2 separate regions of the Homo sapiens genome follow, and region 2 is linked to region 1. Evidence: promoter capture Hi-C in human tissues and cell types (Jung and others, 2019). All regions are on one chromosome and are shown on one strand. Each heading gives the region's core, a stretch centred on a gene start or on the middle of the fragment in contact. The rest is flanking DNA. Distances are from core to core; before and after follow the strand shown.

Evidence for each region. The method cuts DNA at HindIII sites, captures the fragments that hold promoters and counts their contacts. A contact is called where the count stands out against the background at its distance.
Region 2: a fragment that was not itself captured here is called in contact with the fragment with the promoter of USP18 in region 1 in 6 of the 25 tissues and cell types used here (dorsolateral prefrontal cortex, heart left ventricle, hippocampus and 3 more).

Annotation. Positions count from the first base shown.
Region 1 is chr22:18,147,317-18,152,202 of GRCh38, forward strand. USP18 (ubiquitin specific peptidase 18) reads left to right here and starts at 2,854. Exons shown (of 11, transcript NM_017414.4): 1 at 2,854-2,906. It overlaps LOC124905076 (a long non-coding RNA gene), which reads right to left and starts at 1,898. Exons shown (of 2, transcript XR_007067999.1): 1 at 1,784-1,898. RefSeq lists an enhancer at 2,595-2,914. The HindIII fragment of the contact is 12,042 bases long and covers 1-4,127 here.
Region 2 is chr22:17,954,695-17,959,580 of GRCh38, forward strand. All of the region lies in intron 1 of MICAL3 (microtubule associated monooxygenase, calponin and LIM domain containing 3), which reads right to left. Among named protein-coding and RNA genes, the nearest start is that of MIR648, 24 kb to the right of the region's middle. RefSeq lists enhancers at 1,187-1,688, 1,689-2,188. The HindIII fragment of the contact is 9,939 bases long and covers 1-4,886 here.

The DNA.
Region 1 (4,886 bases), core at 1,604-4,103:
GAAACCAAGATCTGGGTGCAAGATGTACTGTTGGGGTGTCACTGTTCCCAGGCCCCCTACAGACCAAGTCAGGGGATGTATGCATGTATACACATGTTTACCTCCACATGTACTTCTTTTTTTTTTTTTTTTTTTTTTTTTTTTTGGATAGGGGATCTCGCTGTGTCGCCAGGCTGGAGTGCAATGATGCAATCTTGGCTCACTGCAACCTCTGCCTCCCGGGTTCAAATGATTATCCTGCCTCAGCCTTCCGAGTAGCTGGGACTACAGGCGTGTGCCACCACACCCAGCTAATTTTTTGTATTTTTAGTAAAGACGGGGTTTCACCGTGTTAGCCACGGTGGTCTCAATCTCCTGACCTCGTGATCCACCCGCCTTGTACTTCTTTATCTATCTGTGTATACATACTGAAAATCATGGATCCACACTGCTAAGTCCAATTCCAGTTCAACACTAGTGGGCTCATTCTCCCTTTCCTTATTTGTAACTCCTATCTCTGAGAGTTTCAACTCTGGCTCCAATTATCCTTAATACATTCAGTTACCTGGTCATCCCCCTGTATGTAACTAATCTGTCATCTCCACCAGCACCCTGCCCTCCCTGGACACCACACACTGGGCCACTCCAATACCGGGATGTGCCACATCTTCAAATTGCTTGGGCTGTGACCCTGGGCCGGGCTGCACCAGCACCCATTTGTGTCTGACATTGTGCTGGGCAGCCCCACTGTGCTGCCACCCTCCTCAACCTGCTCCAGTCCAGCACCCTGCTTGGGCCACTGTGGAACATACTACACAAACGCCCACTTTGCTTGACACACCTGATGGCCTTAGCACGGAATTGTTCAGGAGGGTACCATGAAGGACGGAAGGAAGAGCCCCATAGAAGTGTAATGGATCCTTACATTATATAGTCCAGCCTCCAACCCAAGGTTCACCCTTGTCCATTCTGCACTGGGGCAGCAACACCAATTACTTTGCTCCACCGACCTACCAAGATTCAGATAGAATCATTGGATTGACTATTAATAGTTTTCTGCTGATAGTTGCTGCAAGCAACTGCAGCTTGCTCCTTAGCCTTCTACTGACTTGCTGTATTTAGCATATTTTATCAAATTTTGCAACCTCCTCTCCTCATTGCCCTCACTTGAGTTTTTGAGGTTCCTGTTTGTGGACAAGACTTACCAGATGTATGAAGCTGGTTATATAACTGATTGGTCAGCAAATATAATGAGGACGGACCCTGCGCCCACCACCGTGTACCTGTGTAAACACCATACTGCGCAAAGTCCACCAGCCTTCCAGGGAGAACATGCTGCACTGTGGGCGACACTGCCTCCGTTCCAGCAGCAATGTAAGCGGAGTCTGGGCTGACGATGGACGTGTGGATAGCCTGTATGTGTATATCTGTGCTCATGCTTCTAACACACATCCACCCTATTATGGACACGTTTATACATCTTCATGCCATGGTATTTTGTACCTTACTGCAGACCCTACCAACGCTTCAGTGAGGTTCTGGCAGCTTTGGGTTTTTGGAGGCTATTTGTCTGTTGCTGCGGGGACGGCTTTCAGAAAGAATGATCGCTTTGGGGGAATTGTACCCTGCTTTCCTGCGCAAATTCCAGCGGCTGGAGTTTGAGGCCCCTAGCAGATAACCCTTCTGCCCCTACCCCCATGAGTCTACATACAAGAAATACATCTCTAAAGAGGTAATAAGCCTTTCCGGTGTGCATGTTACAGATCTCTTAACCTTATATATACACAGATGGTCCATCACTTACCGTGGTTTCACTTACGATGTTTCGACTTCATGATGGGTTCACTGGGACTTGACCCCATTTTTTTTTTTTTTTTTTAGACGGAGTCTTGCTCTTGTCGATCTCTGCTCACTGCAACCTCCGCTTCTTGGGTTCAAGTTATTCTCCTGCCTCAGCCTCTTAAGTAGCTGGGATTAAGCGCCACCACGCCGAGCTAATTTTTGTACTTTTAGTAGAGATGGGGTTTCACTATGTTGGTCAGGCTGGTCTCGAACTCCTGACCTCAGGTGATCCGCCTGCCTCAGCATCCCAAAGTGCTGGGATTACAGGTGTGAGCCACCGCGCCCCCTGACCCCTTCTTAAGTGGAGAAATATCTGTATCTGCATGCCCACAGGGGAGCTCCTAATTACACCATGTGCCGCATCCAAGCCACAGGCCGGTGATGTGAAGACACCCGATCCAAGAAATACAATAGCATTAAGAAAGAAAAAATGCTGCCATGGATACTACCAAACGCCAAATGACTCTAACACGTAGGCTAATTGCAAGGACCTTAAAATCGCAAATAAAAAGGCGCCTGTAGGTCGGGCGCGGTGGCCCACACCTGTAATCCCAGCACTTTAGGAGGCGGGCGGATCACCTGAGACCAGCCTGGCCAGCATGGCGGAACCCCATCGCTACTAAAATACAAAAATTAGCCAGGAGTGGTGGCGCATGCCTGTAATCCCAGCTACTCCGGAGCCTGAGGCAGGAGAATCGCTTGAACCCAGGAGGCGGAGTTTGCAGTGAACCGAGACAGCGCAACCGCACTCCAGCCTGGACGACAGAATGAGACTCCGTCTCAAAAAAAAAAAAAAAAAAAAAAAGCGAGGGCTGGAAGTCTGGAGCAGGTGCGCGGCTGCAACGGCAGCCGCGGGAAGCTCGGGCCGGCAGGGTTTCCCCGCACGCTGGCGCCCAGCTCCCGGCGCGGAGGCCGCTGTAAGTTTCGCTTTCCATTCAGTGGAAAACGAAAGCTGGGCGGGGTGCCACGAGCGCGGGGCCAGACCAAGGCGGGCCCGGAGCGGAACTTCGGTCCCAGCTCGGTCCCCGGCTCAGTCCCGACGTGGAACTCAGCAGCGGAGGCTGGACGCTTGCATGGCGCTTGAGGCAAGTTCGGGGCTCATTTTGGAAGTTTTCTTTCTAGCACAGACATCCAACTCTGCTCCTATGCCAGTCAGATAATTAAGGAATTAAGTAATAATTGTGCTCTGCAAATTATGATAGTGATCTGTATTTACTACGTGCATATATTTTGGGCCAGTGAATTTTTTTCTAAGCTAATATAGTTATTTGGACTTTTGACATGACTTTGTGTTTAATTAAAACAAAAAAAGAAATTGCAGAAGTGTTGTAAGCTTGTAAAAAAATTCAAACAATGCAGACAAATGTGTCTCGCAGTCTTCCACTCAGTATCATTTTTGTTTGTACCTTATCAGAAATGTTTCTATGTACAAGTCTTTAAAATCATTTCGAACTTGCTTTGTCCACTGAGTATATTATGGACATCTTTTCATGGCAGGACATATAGATGTGTTAATGGCATTAAAAATAAAACAAAAAACTGATTCGGCCGGGTACGGTGGCTCACGCCTGTAATCCCAGCACTTTGGGAGATCGAGGAGGGAGGATCACCTGAGGTCAGGAGTTACAGACATGGAGAAACCCCGTCTCTACTAAAAATACAAAATTAGCCTGGCGTGGTGGCGCATGCCTGTAATCCCAGCTACTCGGGAGGCTGAGGCAGGAGAATCGCTTGAACCCGGGAGCGGAGGTTGCGGTGAGCCGAGATCGCACCGTTGCACTCCAGCCTGGGCGACAGAGCGAAACTGTCTCAAACAAACAAACAAAAAAACCTGATACATGGTATGGGAAGTACATTGTTTAAACAATGCATGGAGATTTAGGTTGTTTCCAGTTTTTACTGGCACAGATACGGCAATGAATATAATTTTATGTATACATTCATACAAATATATCGGTGGAAAATTCCTAGAAGTGGAATGGCTGGGTCAGTGGGCATTCATATTGAGAAATTGGAAGGATGTTGTCAAACTCTGCAAATCAGAGTATTTTAGTCTTAACCTCTCTTCTTCACACCCTTTTCCTTGGAAGAAAGCTAAATTTAGACTTTTAAACACAAAACTCCATTTTGAGACCCCTGAAAATCTGGGTTCAAAGTGTTTGAAAATTAAAGCAGAGGCTTTAATTTGTACTTATTTAGGTATAATTTGTACTTTAAAGTTGTTCCAGAAAACAAGGCAAATACTGAAAAGCATTTCATCTGAAGTTTCTTTCTGGTATTGAACAGAGTTGGATGGAGAGTGAATGCAGGTTACCGATGTGTTCGCAGGAACAAAACGGGAGGGAGAGTAACACAGGTGCACGGCTTCATATTGATTTATCAAAGAACTTGCTTTTGGACTGTTAAAAAATGTGTTGCACAGTTCTGACACTTTTACACAATGATGAGCTTACAAAGGGGAAAATGCTTAACATAAACATAGTTTCAAAGAAGGTAAGTCCTAGTTTTTCCACGAGCTGTTTTTTTTTTTGAGAGAGAGTAGTCCCAAAATTTCCCTATTATGTGGTTTTTCATCCAAAGTGTTGTAATCCGTGTGTTCTAACCCGCATATTACGATTACTCAAGAAATGCAAAATAGGCCGGGCGCGGTGGCTCACGCCTGTAATCCCAGCAATTTGGGAGGCCGAGGCAGGTGGATCACGAGGTCAGGAGATCAAGACCATCCTAGCTAACACGGTGCAAACCCATCTACTAAAAATAAAAAATATTAGCTGGGCGTGGCGGCAGGCGCCTGTAGTCCCAACTACTCGGGAGGCTGAGGCAGGAGAATGGCGTGAACCTGGGAGGCGGAGCTTGCAGTGAGCCAAGATCCGGCCACTGCACTCCAGCCTGGGCGACAGAGGGAGACTCCGTCTCAAAAATAAAAATAAAAATAAAAAAAGAAAAAAGAAATGCAAAATAATGTGAACACGTCATCGAGACTGCGGTCTACAATTGTGGTTGCCATGATGGGGTGGGTCGGAAGACACCGAGGCTGCTTGAATCATGTTCCTGGCAGGTTAATT
Region 2 (4,886 bases), core at 1,503-4,002, 190 kb before region 1:
AGTGTGGTTAAGGGCAGAGGCAAGTGAGTCAAACAAACTGGATTCAAGTCTTTTCCTTTTTTTTTTTTTTGAGACGGAATCTCGCTCTGTCGCCCAGGCTGGAGTGTAGTGGTGCGATCTCAGCTCACAGCAACCTCGCCCTCCCGGGTTCAAGCAATTTCTGGGATTACAGGCGGACACCACCACGCCCAGCTAATTTTTGTATTTTTAGTAGAGACGCTGTTTCACCATGTTGGCTAGGCTGGTCTCAAACTCCTGACCTCAAGTGATCCTCCCACCTCGGCCTCGCAAAATGCTGGGATTACAGGCGTGAGCCACTGCACCCAGCTTCAAGTCTTTTTTTAACTACTTACTAGCTGTGTGACTTTAATCAAGTTATTCAGCCTCTCTGATACTTAATACCCATATAGCAGGATTCTTGTTAAGGATTAAATGACAATGCATTTAGCCACTGAGAATGTCCAGCACACAGCAAGCTCTCAGTAAATGGTGGCTATTCACTGTGATCACCTCCTTTCTCCTGCTTCACTCCTTCAAAATCTCCCTGGTTTAGGGTAGAAGAGGAAAGCAGGCACCATAAAGAATGCAAGGATCTGTCCAGGAGAGACACTGCAGCCTGTTCCATCCTAACCCTCCACAACAGGTGTGTGTCTGCCCTGCCCCAACACCCGCTCTTACCCATCTGTTCCAGTAAAATCCATGCTCCTCCATCCCACTCTCCACAGGGAACCTTCCTCATGTCCTCCCCCTCAGGAGGGGATGTAGCTATCAGTAGGCTGAGGAATGGGCCGTACTTAGCCAAGGCCTTGGAGGAAGCTGTGTGTGGCAGGGGAAGCAGACTGCATCCAGAGAGAGCCCTGGCTGAGAACCACTGAAAAGCCAAGAGATGCCTACACTCACTCACACACTTATTCCCACCTTCCAACATCCCATAATATCCTCATTTAATTCTTACAAATTAACACTTTCTCAAGCCGATCCTTGGAGCAGCATTTTCTAAGATGAACCCCACATTTCTTCTACCAGCTGCATTTGCTATGCACCTCAATATGTCAGTGACAATTTCCTGGACAACTTCCAGCCTAGAGTGGGAGGTGGAAATAGATCTCATGCCTGAGAAGCCCCAGCCAGCATCACAGAACTGCTGAGGATTGGACCGGGAAAAGATCTGAGAGATCTCCGACTCCCCACTCAGCTGCATGTTTGCTCCAGCTTTCCTAAGGACTTGAATCCACAGAGATTTTAGGAATTTCAGATTTTTAGTCATAAACCAAAATCTTCGACCATTAAACGGTGTTTATGAATGTTTATGAGCACAAGGGAAGAAAATGTCCAGGAAGAGGGGCTCCTGAGAGAGTGTCCTCTGAAATTCCTGGTCTTATAGGAGAGGCAGCTGCAGAAGGGAGCTGCAGAGGGCACACACATGCCTGTGTCAGCGTCTCATGCCGACATCCACACTGGCTGAATCCAACATGTTCAAGGGTGCTGCATGCTCATCCAGAGCCCACTCCTCCGGGGCCCCACAGTGCTAAGCCATGGGGCTAGAAGGGCCACATGTCAAGATCACAACTTCCAAACAGACAGTTGCAGAAAGGGGATGGGGAGAAGAGCCCAGAAACACAGAGGCAGCAACCTCCCAGGTATGCCAAGCTTTGCACTGACACTGCTATGGTACCTACAGAAATCCATGCACTACCGGCCGGGCATGGTGGCTCACGGCTATAATCCCCGCACTTTGGGAGGCCGAGGCGGGCCTCCTGAGGTCAGGAGTTCGAGATCAGCCTGACAAACATGGAGAAACCCCGTCTCTACTAAAAATACAAAATTAGCCAGGTGTGGTGGTGCATGCCTGTAGTCCCAGCTACTTGGGAGGCTGAGGCAGGAGAATTGCTTGAACCTGGGAGGCAGAGGTTGCCGTGAGCCAAGATCACGCCATTGCACTCCAGCCTGGGCACAGCCGACTCCTGCACTGCGACTACGACTTAGCTCCGAGAAAAGAAGAGCAAAGGAGAGCTGCGAGGACAGCCAGCCTGTGTCTGGAGGGAGGACTGCTTACGTGCATACAGGGCAGGAAGAAGTGGACTCACATGAAGCAGAAGGTGCTCACGTGAGAGACACTACAGAGACGAAGTCAGACACCAACTGGAGAAAGATTTCCTTCTTAGTAACAGTACCCCAATCTTACTAGAGCCAGTGATGCACTCACTTACAAAACCGCATTTCTCAAACTTCCTTGAAGCTAGCTGTGACCATGTTTTCCAGGTTCTGGTTAATGAGATATAAGCAGAAGTGTGTGGGTCTTCCTGAAAGACTCCTTTAAAGGAGTCTCTCACATAGAAAAACATTTTGCCTTTCTTTACATTTCCTCCCTTTGGTGTTCTACCCAGAAAGAAAAGAAAGATGGCTGGAGCTCCGGCAGCCATGCTTTGTTATGAGGTAACCTTAAGGATGAGAAAGCTACGTGCCAGGGTAGTGGAGTTAGGTCAAATTGAACTCTCACCTGTCAATCCATAGAGTGGGCCACACAATCACCAGGCTTTAGCTGGCAAGTCCAGGTAGAAGGAACGAGACAAAATCCTGATGGCCATGCAGCTGGCTACACTGGCTCTGGGCTTCCCATCTCTAGGGTCCTTTTACATAAAAAGAAAATCTTCTTTCATGCTAAGCCACATTTTGCAATTTCCGACTGAAACTAATCTCATCTGATACAAAAATGTGAATAGAAAGCCTTCTTTACTGAGAGCCTGGGCTCGATGGCTCACGCCTATAATCCCAGCACTTTGGGAGGGAGGATCACTTGAGGCCAGGAATTCTAGACCAGTCTGGGCAACATGGCAAAATCCCATCTCTACTAAAAATACAAAACATTAGCTGGGCATGGTCGCGTGCGCCTGTAATCCCAGCTACTCAGGAGGCTGAGGCAGGAGAATCGCTTGAACCAGGAAGCAGAGGTTGCAGTGAGCTGAGATCAAGCCACTGCACTCCAACCTGGGCGACAAGAGTGAAACTATGTCAAAAAAAAAAAAAAAAAAAGAGAGAGAAAGAAAACGAGAGAGAGAGAGAGAGAGAATGAAAGAACGAAAGAAAGAAACTTTCTTTCTTTACTAAGAGAAGCTCTGAAGAAGATGAAATGGTACAGTCACAGGGAGCCTGGAGAGATCCCACCACGGCAGCCTGTCAAATGGTGCCTGCATATGGAAGACAGCTGTGGTGGCTGGAGTTTCTTAAGCGGCAAGCCCTGCTACTGAGAAAAGAGCAGAGCTTTCCTCGTGGAGTTAGACCAAGGAAGATTCATCCCAAAAAACCTAAAAATTCCACATTACCCATAACTGAAATCTTAGGAAAAACTGACCCAATGAGTTGGCATAACACGATCTCTTTAGTGGACCCCAGATGATATAAACCTGTAGATTTTTCTCAACAATTAAAATAACGTGGACCCCATTACAATTAACCTATGACACTTTTTGGATAGCTTATCTTCTACTACCTCCTGCAGAAAAATCCTCCCTATACAGAACTCAACAAATCTCCAATTCCTCTGTCCATTACCTCATTGGCCAATACTCACCCTTGCTAGGGCCACTTTGGGTCCTCAGGCCACGTTGTTATTTGTGTTCTGTTCCCTAAAAACCGTCAGAGAGACTGAGTTGAACGCACTCCACACACTGATGATGATGGCAGATGGCCAGAGGCAGTTACGGAAGAAAGAAAAGACAGTGGGGTCACAGCTCAGCTCTGCCTTCCTGCTAAGGTGTCTCCTGCATCGGCCTTGGGCCTCAGCTGCACCCCATCCTCACCCTCATCCCCCGTTAAAGCTAGAAAACTGGCTCCCCTACCCCAAAAACCAGAGGGAGCCCTCGACAGGGCAAGCTGAATCATCCGCCCATGGAGTGGACCATAGCACCAACACACAGTAGCCAGCAGGGCCAGAACTGACCACAAGAAGTGGGCTGAAGCAGGGCAGCCTGGTCTCAGGGCCTGTTGTTTTTGAGTTGTTGGGTTTTTTTATTTTTTTTTTCTTTTGAGACAGAGTTTCGCTCTTGTTGCCCAGGCCAGAGTGCAATGGCGTGATCTCAGCTCACTGCAACCTCCACCTCCCGGGTTCAGGTGATTCACCTGCCTCAGCCTCCTGAGTAGCTGAGATTAGAGGCGTCCGCCACCACACCCAGCTAATTTTTTTGTATTTTTAGTAAAGACAGGGTTTCATCATGTTGGCCAAGCTGGTCTTGAAGTCCTGACCTCAGGTGATCTGCTCGCCTCGGCCTCGCAAAGTGCTGGGATTACAGGCATAAGCCACTGCGCCGGGCCTGGGGTTTTTTTTTTTTTTTTTTTTTTTGAGATGGAGTCTCGCTCTGTTGCCCAGGCTGAAGTGCAGTGGCGCAATCTCGGCTCACTACAAGCTCCGCCTCCCGGGTTCACGCCATTCTCCTGCCTCAGCCTCCCGAGTAGCTGAGACTGCAGGCGCCCACCACCACGCCCGGCTAATTTTTTGCATTTTTAGTAGAGATGGGGTTTCACTGTGTTAGCCAGGATGGTCTCGATCTCCTGACCTTGTGATCCACCCACCTCAGGCTCCCAAAGTGCTGGGATTACAGGTGTGAGCCACCGTGCCCAGCCATCGGCCTGGGTTTTTTTGAAACAGAGTCTCGCTCTGTCACCCAGGCTGGAGTGCAGTGGCGCAATCTTGGTTCACTGCAACCTCTGACCCACAGGTTCAAGCGATTCTCCTGCCTCAGCCTCCCGAGTAGCTGGGATTACAGGCACCTGCCACCAGGCCCGGCTAATTTTTGTATTTTTAGTAGAGACACGGTTTCACCATGTTGGCCAGGCTGGTCTCAAACTCCTGACCTCAGGTGATCTGCCTGCCTTAGCCTCCCAAAGTG